Linked DNA regions of Homo sapiens: all the other regions are linked to region 2. The links are contacts of gene promoters, found by promoter capture Hi-C in human tissues and cell types (Jung and others, 2019). All regions are on one chromosome and are shown on one strand. The core of a region is centred on a gene start or on the middle of the fragment in contact, and the rest is flanking DNA. Distances in the headings are between cores, read along the strand shown. Region 1 overlaps DHX35 (DEAH-box helicase 35). Region 2 holds the start of SLC32A1 (solute carrier family 32 member 1). Region 3 overlaps PPP1R16B (protein phosphatase 1 regulatory subunit 16B). Region 4 overlaps FAM83D (family with sequence similarity 83 member D).

What was found. Contacts are between HindIII fragments. The study calls those that stand out against the background at their distance.
Region 1: a fragment that was not itself captured here is called in contact with the fragment with the promoter of SLC32A1 in region 2 in 1 of the 25 tissues and cell types used here (dorsolateral prefrontal cortex).
Region 3: a fragment that was not itself captured here is called in contact with the fragment with the promoter of SLC32A1 in region 2 in 1 of the 25 tissues and cell types used here (lymphoblastoid cells).
Region 4: a contact is called between a fragment that was not itself captured here and the fragment with the promoter of SLC32A1 in region 2, in 2 of the 25 tissues and cell types used here (dorsolateral prefrontal cortex and mesendoderm cells).

What each region holds. Positions count from the first base shown.
Region 1 is chr20:38,965,817-38,968,618 of GRCh38, forward strand. All of the region lies in intron 1 of DHX35 (DEAH-box helicase 35), which reads left to right. Among named protein-coding and RNA genes, the nearest start is that of DHX35, 4.9 kb to the left of the region's middle. The HindIII fragment of the contact is 5,080 bases long and covers 1-2,802 here.
Region 2 is chr20:38,723,142-38,725,841 of GRCh38, forward strand. It overlaps SLC32A1 (solute carrier family 32 member 1), which reads left to right and starts at 1,345. Exons shown (of 2, transcript NM_080552.3): 1 at 1,345-1,973. The coding sequence starts at 1,584. The HindIII fragment of the contact is 7,924 bases long and covers 1-2,700 here.
Region 3 is chr20:38,869,605-38,872,353 of GRCh38, forward strand. All of the region lies in intron 2 of PPP1R16B (protein phosphatase 1 regulatory subunit 16B), which reads left to right. Among named protein-coding and RNA genes, the nearest start is that of FAM83D, 55 kb to the right of the region's middle. RefSeq lists enhancers at 867-1,437, 1,566-1,625, 1,646-1,735. The HindIII fragment of the contact is 7,641 bases long and covers 1-2,749 here.
Region 4 is chr20:38,946,928-38,949,686 of GRCh38, forward strand. It overlaps FAM83D (family with sequence similarity 83 member D), which reads left to right. Exons shown (of 4, transcript NM_030919.3): 3 at 949-1,073. Among named protein-coding and RNA genes, the nearest start is that of DHX35, 14 kb to the right of the region's middle. The HindIII fragment of the contact is 4,328 bases long and covers 1-2,759 here.

The sequences.
Region 1 (2,802 bases), core at 121-2,620, 240 kb after region 2:
AATTTGCAAGTACACGTGGATCCGAAGGGCCTGCCCATTTTCGTTTGCTCATTTGATAAATATTTCATGATTGTTGACCATGTGCATGACGAAAACTTTACAATAGGTTTTAAGCTTTTTTTGACTTGACCCACAGTAAGATATAGCACACATACACAACTGAAGAAAAAGTTGTTCATAAACAGTATTGCTTTCTGGAATGTGCTCTGATGCTTTCTATTCTATTTCATTATTTAAAAAGTGCTGGTATGACATACTACATTGATTTCATAACCCACTAATGGGTCACCAGTAAAATTTTTAAAAACCAAGTTAAAGGGAATGAGGAATTAGGGATATCAGCCTTGTTAAGATAGGGAAATGAAGATGTTCATAGTTTGCAAAAGTTATAAAGTTGTTACTCCCTTAAGCATAGAGCGTACGCTCAAGGAAAAATCAATCATAGGCAGCCACAGAGGGGTGTTTATAGAGGGAAAGCAGCCCTGATGTTCTGGTTTGGTTGAAGGAAGTCTTTTATGAGGAGAAGGTATACTGTTTATCAACTGACATAGCTGTTCTTATAAAAGAGCTCAGCTGGGCGTGGTGGCTCATGCCTATAATCCTAGCACTTCGGGAGGTCGAGGTGGGTGGATCACCAGAGGTCAGAAGTTCGACACCAGCCTGGCTAACATGGTGTGACCCTGTCTCTACTAAAAATACAAAATGAGCTGGGTGCGGTGGTGCGTGCCTGTAATCCCAGCTACTCGGGATGCCCAGGCAGGAGAGTCGCTTGAACCTGGAAGGCGGAGGTTGCAGTGAGCTGGCATCTCGCCACTGCACTCCAGCCTGAGCAACAGAGACTCCATCTCCAAAAACAAAAGCTGATAATAGAAGAGATAGATTGGGGCTGTAGGTTAGAGACAAGGGAGGAATACGGTAGTACAAAAGACATGTTAAAATATTCCAGAGAGGATATGAAGGTTTAAAACATGATTTGAAAAGGCAGGAATTCAGGACAAAAACACAGCAGAAAAGGATAAGGTATTCTTTGTCATTGTTTTCTTGAGTAACAATTACAAGGAATTATTAAGATGTAGTGACAAGAAGGGAAGGAAAGAAAGCCTGTCTCTTTGAGGACAGGCATTGTTCCAGGTCCTGTTCCATCTTTTGTCTTGTTGAAAGGAAGGTCAACATTTTGGCAAAAGCAACATGACAGTGCCCCACTTACCTGATTTTTGGCCATCTTGAACCTCTGAAACACAACTCTGTTCCTGGAAGTAAATGGAAAAGGGTCAGAGATCTAAAGCAGTGATTCTAAACTTAGCTCTAGGGGGTCTACGGACCCCCCCGAATTTTATATTCTGGTAAATTCTGGTGTGTTTTTTAGGAGAGGGAGTTCATAGCCTTTATCAGATTGTTGAAGCAATCTGAGAACCCTAAAAAGTGTAAAAGTAAGTCACTGAGCTGAATATTCTTGTTACAAAGCTCCTGTGCTTTCACTTAGCATCACAGATTCTGAGTTCAGAAGACCTAGGAGATGATGGTTATTGGTTATTATCACTGTAGTGCCCCAGCAGGAGGCTGTATAGCATGTGTTTGATCTAGGGAGGATTTTTATTCATTTACAAGGCAGCAAACTCCAGTGCTGAAAAGTGTGACCTTTTGGAAATATCTTCCTTACATTGAGTTGAATTCTGAACCCTGTGTCATTTACTTATTACTCCTAGTTCTGTCCTAGAGTTACAGCAGCAAATCAGCATGAAAAGTTATGGAAGCTGCTCACAAAATTTAAAGTTATGTTTCTCCTGAGTTGTTTTTCTGTTTGAGCTAAAACTGTATGGAACCTTCAACAGGTTTTCATGATGGGATATGGCTTCCCTATTCTTCACCATCATGATCACCAGTTTGTCATTGTTATTAGCAAGAAGCCGGGGTGAAGATCTCTTGTTTAATCTGCCCAGCATGGCGGTTACTGAGAATAGCATTTCCCATCTATCCACTCCCGATTCCATGGTTCCAATGGGGACTGTCATTTACCTCATCCCATTCCACTGGCCATGGTTGATTGTATTGGGGTGGGGATTGGACCTAAGCTGGGAGAAGTCAGTCCCTGTCTGTCCAGTATAAAAGAGCCTCCCCCACCCCCCATTACAACACATACCTGGGACTCCCAGTCCCCCTTACGTTGTCTTTATTTCTCTCCATAGCACTTATGACCACTTCATGCACCAAGTTACTTTCCACTGAGAGGAAGAATTAAAAAAGCAAGTGAGCTCCGTGAGGGTAGGGCTGGCATCTGTATTGTTCACTGCAGTGTTTCTAGTGCTTAGAGTGGTACGTGACATGGAGTGGGCCCTTGGTCCATCCTTGCTGGTCCTTGCTGGACCACGATGAATGATTGGTAGAGGAGTTGTAAGCGTGAACCCTGGCACTGCCGGCAGCCGTCTTTCCAGCTCCTGTACAGTAGCCAACCTAAGGGGCTGGAAGGAACCTGCAAGACGTGCCAAGATGAGAGAAGGAGAAAGCCATGGCTGCTTTGAGTGCCCAGTTTCTGTCATCTCTGAGCCTTATTGCCATCCTACAGTAACAAGATTCATCCTTTTACCTCAGCTAATTCCCACTGGGTTTCTTTCACTTCTGTTAAGAATTCAGTAATAACATGGACATGGAGGCCAGAAGTAAAGACACTGTGCTCTGTAATACACAGTTCTGAGTGGCCAATTTGGAGCCCAGTGGGACTGCCATCTCGTTTCTTTTTTCTTTTTTTTTGGAGACAGAGTCTTGCTCTGTCGCCCAGGCTGGAGTGCAGGGGCCCGATCTTGG
Region 2 (2,700 bases), core at 95-2,594:
GCCAGGACATCAGCTGGGGACTTACGCAGGGACCCATTCAGAGCAGCGGACCCTCACGGAGACTACTACAAAGGGACTAACACAGGCACGAACGCAGGCAACCCCATTCGGGAACACATACGTAATCCAACACACTAGCTCTGGCACACACACTGGAATGCGCGCAAAACCACACAGACACAGAACACACGCGGTTACCAAACCTCATTCTCAGAGGCCACACTGATCCAACCTCAAGCAGAGTCTGATACAGCATCGGTCTTTGTCTCTGGGTCTCTCCCTTACTCGCGCTCACACACCCGTACCCCAATCAACACAAACAGCCCAAGCTTTCACAGCCTGGAGGCGGCCGTCGGAGCAGGGCCCCAGCGCACCGCGAGCCTCTGCTTCCTCCGCCTTGCAGCGCCGCGAGCCCTTCTTTCCTCCGCGCCTGGCCCCGTCTGCGCCCCTCTCGGCGTGGGCATTCGCAGACCCGCTAGGAGGCTGACGAGAGGTGTCCTCATAGAGTCCTGCCTTCTTCCAGACCCCCAAACGAAAAGAAAGAGAAAAGCCAACCTTTCGCCTCCATTCTGCACGCATTTGGAGAGCGGCTGGTGGCGAGCGATCCGCACAATCGCTTCCCTCGCGGCGTCCCTGGACGGGCGGAGAGAACCCGGGTGACTGAGCCTGAGGCTGAGCTTCCTTGGGAGCGATCCATGCCAGCCACTTCTACCTTCAAGGGGGACTCGCGGCCGGGTTTACGCGCGAAGGATGGGTGCCAGGGAAACTGACTTATAGACGACCCGCTCCGCGAGAGACTGACAACTCAGTCCTGCGGGCTTTCGGGGCGCCCAGACCAGTCCTTAGCCAGAGGATCTGGGGCTGCACAGCTCCCGGACCCTGGAGGGGGTGGTCCGGGGGTGGGAGACTGCGAGCATCAGCCCACGCCGGCCCCCTCCCACCCTGCGGCGGCGAGGTGGGAAGGGCCAGGATGCGAGCTTAGCACCTCCCCTAGAAATGCAGCACTTCGCCCCCCCACCTCCCCTGCCCTCGGCGCTCCCTCTTTCACGCGCTCCCTCCCGCCTCCTTCCCAAGGGCGCCCTTCTTCTGCCCCCAGCTCACGTCTGAATCCCTCGGCGCCCCCTTTCTCTTCTCCTAGCCCCTTCCTCACGTCCCCTGCCTCCGGGTATTTCCTCTCTCCAATCCCCCACCCCCGCACCGCCTGATTCCGAGGGGCGGGAGCGCATTGGGCTGCGCACGGGTGGGGGCGCCGCGCCAGCTTCGCGTAGCTGCTCTGACGCCGCTGCCGCCGCCGCCGCCGCCGCCGCCCTCCGCAGCCCAGCTCGCGCCCCGCGGCAGCTCCGCAGTGCACTAGCCACCACCGCCGCCGCCGCCGCTCCGCCAGACCTGCTGCCAGCTTGCCCGGTCCAGCCCTGAGAGAGCCTCGAACGCCAGCTGCGAGGGTCATGAGCCAGAGAGCCCCGGGGCGCCGCGCGGAGAGCAAGCGGAGATAGCGACTTTGCGCCCCCCAGCCCTCGCCTTCTTGCATCGCGTTCCCCGCATCCTCGGGTCCTTCTGTCCTTTCCGCTGTCCCCACCGCCGCCATGGCCACCTTGCTCCGCAGCAAGCTGTCCAACGTGGCCACGTCCGTGTCCAACAAGTCCCAGGCCAAGATGAGCGGCATGTTCGCCAGGATGGGTTTTCAGGCGGCCACGGATGAGGAGGCGGTGGGCTTCGCGCATTGCGACGACCTCGACTTTGAGCACCGCCAGGGCCTGCAGATGGACATCCTGAAAGCCGAGGGAGAGCCCTGCGGGGACGAGGGCGCTGAAGCGCCCGTCGAGGGAGACATCCATTATCAGCGAGGCAGCGGAGCTCCTCTGCCGCCCTCCGGCTCCAAGGACCAGGTGGGAGGTGGTGGCGAATTCGGGGGCCACGACAAGCCCAAAATCACGGCGTGGGAGGCAGGCTGGAACGTGACCAACGCCATCCAGGTAAGCGCGGGATTCCCAGTTCTGCCTGTCCTCCCCCCTCCCAGCTCAGCGTGCCGGGCTCTGCCCCCGACAGTCGCCCGGTGATCTCGGCCTGGAGACCCCCTCCTGTACCCAGGAATCTCCCTTTCTCCATCCCTCCCAGCCCTGCGCGGGGACCTACGCCCCCAGGCGGTGTTTTCCGCCCTAACCCACGCTCCCTCCCAACGGCACCAGCTGCAAGACCGCTAGGCTGAAGTTCGGTCTGAGACACCTGTCCGGAGACACTGCAAAAGTGAAGGAAATGGGGGGAGGGAGCAGGAAGCGATGAGAAAGAAAGAAAATCAGGATTGGAGGGCACGGTTTGGTCTTGGACTCTGGAACGGATTCACAGCTGCATTTTTGGGAGGAAAGAAGAAGGGGAAATCGCTGAGGTCGGAGTCTCCTCCCCCCGCACACACGCATAGACACGCACACGTATATAGGCAGGCACACCACATGCCCACAGCCCCCCTTCCCACGAACAAAGGCGCAGGCACAGGCGCACACGACATGTATCTATATATAGACCACAGTACTATCCCCAAATGCACCTGCGTACACCCCTACAGCTCCACAAACAAAAGCATATACCTGCACATACCAAACACACGAATATTCGTTTGAACATATGCACACACACATGCACAGATGCATGCAGACAGGAACCAGCCTGCTCCCTTGGGTGCGGCCCTGTTGGAGACATACAGGT
Region 3 (2,749 bases), core at 245-2,744, 150 kb after region 2:
CATTTTAGTGGGTGTGAAGTATATTGTTAGTTTGCTTTTTCTGGAAAGTCATGCAAGTGGAATCACATAGTATGGACCCTGTGTGAGCCTTCATTTGCTCAACTTATATGCGAAGATTTTTTAGATGTGTGGTTTGAGGGCCTGGAAAGTCATGTCCTGGCCTATGGAATATATTAAAGGGGAAGATAGGATTCCTTAAGGCAAAAGTGGCAGTTCATTAACCCCCTCCCCTGCAAATCCCTGCCCCACCCCCATCCCGCTGCCACATAAAGATGGACCTGTCTGCCTGCCTTCACTGCAGAGCAAAAATTTTATTTATTTATTTTTTTTTTTTTTTAAGACACGGTCTCTCTCTGTCGCCCAGGCTGGAACACAGTGACGCGATCCCAGCTCACTGCAACCTCCACCTCCTGGGTTCAAGCAATTCTCCTTCCTCAGCCTCCTGAGTAGCTGGGATTACAGGTGCCCACCAACATGCCTGACTAATTTTTGTATTTTTAGTAGAGATGGGGTCTCACCATGTTGGCCAGGCTGGTCTTGAATTCCTGACCTCAAGTGATTCACCTCAAGTGATCCACCCGCCTTGGCCTCCCAAAGTGCTGGGATTACAGGTGTGAGCAACCACGCCCGGCCTGCAGAGCAAAAATTTATTGAGCACCTGTGGTGTGCCAGGACTCATTTATAAGTAAATAGAAAAGGTCCCTGTCCTTGTAGGGTTTATAAACTATAGGGGGAAACTACAAGTCCACATACACATAACCTACCATTTAAAAGTCTGACTAAATGCTGTGAAGGAGTAAGCAAGGTGCTTTGATAGGGAACAGAGGGACAGTGTGTGTATAGGAAGGCCAGTCAGGTGGGTCCCTCTGAGGAGGTGACACTTAAGAGACCTGAAGGATGAGAACTGAGCCAGCCATGCAGAAGGATGGGGAGGCTGGGCTAGAGGAGAGTGTTCTAGGCAGAACAAAATAGCACAAGCAGGGGCCCTGGGGCAGTGAAAGCCTCTGGTGGTTCAGTGCAAAGTTAGGAAGGTGTGAAACAGTGGGAAGGGAAGGGACAGGGATGCTCCTGCTGGCTGATGGCCCATACTGTAGGGGCCACAACTTTGTCTTAGCTGCAAGCAGGACCGGAGACATGAAGGGCCAGACTCTGGGCCAATTTCCTTGCTGCGTTCTCAGCTCCAAGAGGCAGCTCGGCTGGGATATTGTGGCTCATTCTAGTGTCTTGCAGCCTCTCAAACTGGAGGGCTGGAGGGTTGGGGCGTGGTTAGTGGCAGCTGTGACGGAGACTTATCAGGAAGCAGGCATGTAATTCCTGCAGTGATTCACACCCAGTCCCCAGTTTACTGCAGTCCTGCAGTGATTCACACCTGGGCCCCAGTTTACCGCAGCTGCACCTTTAAACAGGGCTCGGATGCCTGCATCTCCCTGACCCGTGTGTACCCTCATCATCCCAGGACCTCGGAGGTGTGGGTGAGGCAGCACATAGCTCAGCCTGGTGCCCTCCTCTCACTAGAGAGCTTGACCCTAAAGCCGCAAGCTCAAGCCCACGCCCTGGCCAACCTCCTGGAGCTTTGAGAACAAGGTGTCCTGTACACAGAGTCCTGGCCCCAGTACCTGAGCGCACATGAACCCCGTATGCAAGAAGAAAACTGACCCCAGCCCCATGTTACATAAGAACATCTTTGGAATTTGGCTCCTTTTGAAATGAAATGGGAAACCTGCACTCAAACAAGCAGGTATGGGGAATTCAATAGGAGGCAAATGCCCTCAGGGTCACCTCTGGGCCAGTATGCATTCTGAGGATTGGTTTATTCATTCAGCAAACATTGTGGACACCTGCTTTGTGCCAAGCTTCATGGAGGGATACAAGAACAGATGTTCAATCAATGTCTGTGGGAAGAAGGAGAGAGAAGGGGGATGAAAGGGAAGGATTGAGAAGGAGGAGTGTAGGGAGGTAGAGAGTAAGGAAGAGAGGAACGAAGGGAGGGAGGGAGGGAGGGAAGGAAGGAGGGAGGGAAGGAAGGAAGGAGGGAGGCAAAGAAAGGGGAAGGGAGGGAGGGAGGGAAGGAAGGAGGGAGGGAGGGAAAGAAAGGGGAAGGAACAGAGGGAGGGACGGAGGGAAGATAAATGGGCAGAGATACCCTCACAGAGCTCATCGTCATGTGACTGTGGGTGCAGGTGTGCCCATGGTAATGTAACTAAGTATTTACAATCTAGCTCAGCTCTGATCAATGGAAAAATAATGTAAGCCACATATGTAATTTTAAATGTTCTAATAGTTCCAGTAAAGCAGGCAAGGAACAGGTGAAATTAATTTGAATAATTATTTAACTCAACATTATTTCAATATGTATTTAGTATAAAAATATTAATGGGTATGTTACATATCTTTTTCACACTAAATCTTCAAGGTCACCCCTAGCACGTCTCAATCTGGATTATGCACATTTCAAGTGCTCCCCAGCCCTGGACACCGTGGAGGGTGGCAGGCACTCTGACTGAGGTGCACAGAGCCTGCTGAGGGCACTTAAGTCAGAGTCAAGGAAGACTTCACCGGGTGGTGCCTTCAGTCATTTAATCATTTGCTCACTTACTGTTCACCTAATGTTTATTGAATGCCTCCTGCACTGGGTGTGACGGCTGGGCAGAGACTCTGCTTGGAGGAAGGAGGGAAGGGCATTCCAGACTAGGGAAGCAGATTGCAAGCTCTGAGAGGGCAGACTGGCGTCTGTCTGGTTCACTGCTGT
Region 4 (2,759 bases), core at 138-2,637, 220 kb after region 2:
TGTAGTTTCTAAATCAATTAGTTTTCTCTCTCTTATTCTAGTCCTTGAAGGTAAGGAGCATGCCTTACATCTCTGTTGTCTCACGGCTTGGCACATAGTAGGGGCTCTCTATGTTTATGGAATCAATGAGTCAAACAAAAATCTTACACGTTTAATTTAAATGTGTAAGATTTCTAACGATATAGAGCCACTGGTCTGCTCCAGAGAATGCAGATTGTTGTAGTATTTTGTATGCCATTGTTTATACATTTATGTGTGTCATTTTACAGGAATAATTATGCATACATGTGCAGTATATTGCCCCAGCATACCACTACCAGTGTACGTTTTTGGTAATTATGTATTTGTAGGAGATGTGACATTGCTTGTTAAGCCACATGTGATATGAGTGTTTCTGCCTCAGCAGGCCTGTACTAGAGAAGGCCTGTCCTGTGTTCCTATTCTCCATACCCATTATGGTGTTGAGGGTGAGTGAGGATGGACTGTTACTCTAATGTGATGCCATTAAACAAACAAGTTGGAGGAAGATCAGCTTACCTTCTTTCAGACTTTGCTAAAATGTTCTTTATTACTAGCATGTTTTCTTTGATGATTTTATCCCACACATTTTGCTTCAGAATCATTTCTTGGATTCTGTTGTTTAGTATCCCAAAAAGGTTGAGTGTTCTTTTAGAACACATACACGCATGAACTAAGGGTCTCAAAAGTAAATATAAGAAAAGAACAGATGAGAAGATGGACCAAATGTAGAAGTAACATCACTTGAGGCTTGAGAACTGTCTGGCTAGTGTACCATGTATACTGTCACTAAATGGTGACCCTAAGCCACGCATATGCCAATAATTATATCTGGGAATTGTAAACTAAGGCTTTTTGTCCTAACCATTTGCTCAGCAGATGAGTATTGCTGAATTGTTCATTTATATTTCTCCCACTCCCTGCCAACAGTTAATGACAGTTCGGACTATCACAGGAAATATCTACTATGCAAGGTCAGGAACTAAGATTATTGGGAAGGTTCACGAAAAGTTCACGTTGATTGATGGCATCCGCGTGGCAACAGGCTCCTACAGGTAAGTCTCTAACCCGTCCAAGGCTTATTAATCTAAACTCTTCAGAAGAAGCATGTCATGTAAAGGTAAAAGCCTTTTCCTCTCAATGGGAGCCTGTATGGCCATGCATTCTGATATGCGTGCATCTGTGTATAGCAGCTGGTTATCAAAGCCTCCTGTTAGAGGCAGTTTGGGTGGGGGTCACTTCCCCTGTCCTGTAGTCCATAGATTAAAATGCAGAAGTTGAACTTGTATTGAGACAACACAGTCAGCAAGTCCTAGATTTCAAGCCTTGGCCCAGGTCTGCAGGGGACGAACTGGGGGTTAACAGCAACACACAGTCTGGAATCCTGGTTCCTTAGGGATCTGGACCCAGCTTGCCCTGCTCACTTGAAGGTAGGGGCAGTTGCAGGCATCTCCATTAGTGTTGAAGGCAGAGCCAGAGCTGTCAGCTTTAGACTCAAATCCTCCACGTTGCTTCAAGCCTTGTAATTTAGAGCTTTAGTCTAGAAAATACTGATTATGTTTCTGACCCACCTTTGAAGTGTCACATTGGCAATGGCATCTTAAGGTAGAGAGCAGGAAGGTTGAAGAGAGGGTGGGGATAATGAGCGGTTTACATGAATCTCTAGAATTTGTGCCATTTGTACATATGTGGCTCCAATGGTTGTATGTTCTGCCGCCTCTGCGGTAGATTGTCTGATGGTTTGCATGAGGTGTGTCTGTAGAATTTTAAAAAGAAAACCCCATTTTTGAAGAAACACACAACCCTGAGTGATAATTACGTGTCAGCCCTGGGTAAAGGTAGAAATGTGAAGGCTTGTGGAAAATGAGGCAGTAAGATCAAGAAAATCTTGACACCTTTCTTTTTCAACAGTACCCTCATTGCTCAGAACAAAATTTGAACTTTCTTCACCAAAGAGGCTGTGGGAAAAAACAAATTGAACTCTTTTTCTTGGAATTTCCTTTTGTAAGAAGTTTATTAAAAAAATTTGTTTTTAACCTAAGTAGGATTTATCTATATTAACCAAACTTAGCTACAAATGGACTTTTGCTGTTCTAAAATATAAAAACTACCCTCTCCAAATGAAATTGATGACGATGATAGCTTCCATTTGTTGAGGAGGTTTTATAATCTTGGTGTTGGATAGGTGCTTTATTTACATTATCTCATTGAAGGCTTTCTTTTTTTTTTTTTTCGTGATGGAGTCTTGCTCTGTTGCTCAGGCTGGAGTGCAGTGGCGCCATCTTAGCTCATTTCAACTTCTGCCTCTCAGATTCAAGCGATTCCTGTGCCTCAGCCTCCCGAGTAGCTGGGACTACAGGCATGCCACCATGACTGGCTAATTTTTGTATTTTTAGTAGAGATGGTGTTTCGCCACGTTGGCCAGGATGGTCTCAGACTCCTGACCTCAGGTGATCCGCTGGCCTCGGCCTACCAAAGTGCTGGGGTTACAGGTGTGAGCCACTGCGCCCGGCCCAGCCTCATTGAAGGCTTTCAAAAGAATCTTCCTTCTCAGGCTTTGAAGGCAGTTTTCAGGGGGACTTTGCATTAGCCATATCTTGGTTACAGGAGACAGAGTTGACTGTGTTCTATGATCTCTGTTTGAAACCTACTTCTGGTACAAATACCACCATTAGTGGGGTGATGGCAAGTGTCAGCTAACTCTCAAACGTACTGACTCGAAGAACCCGGAAGGAAGCATA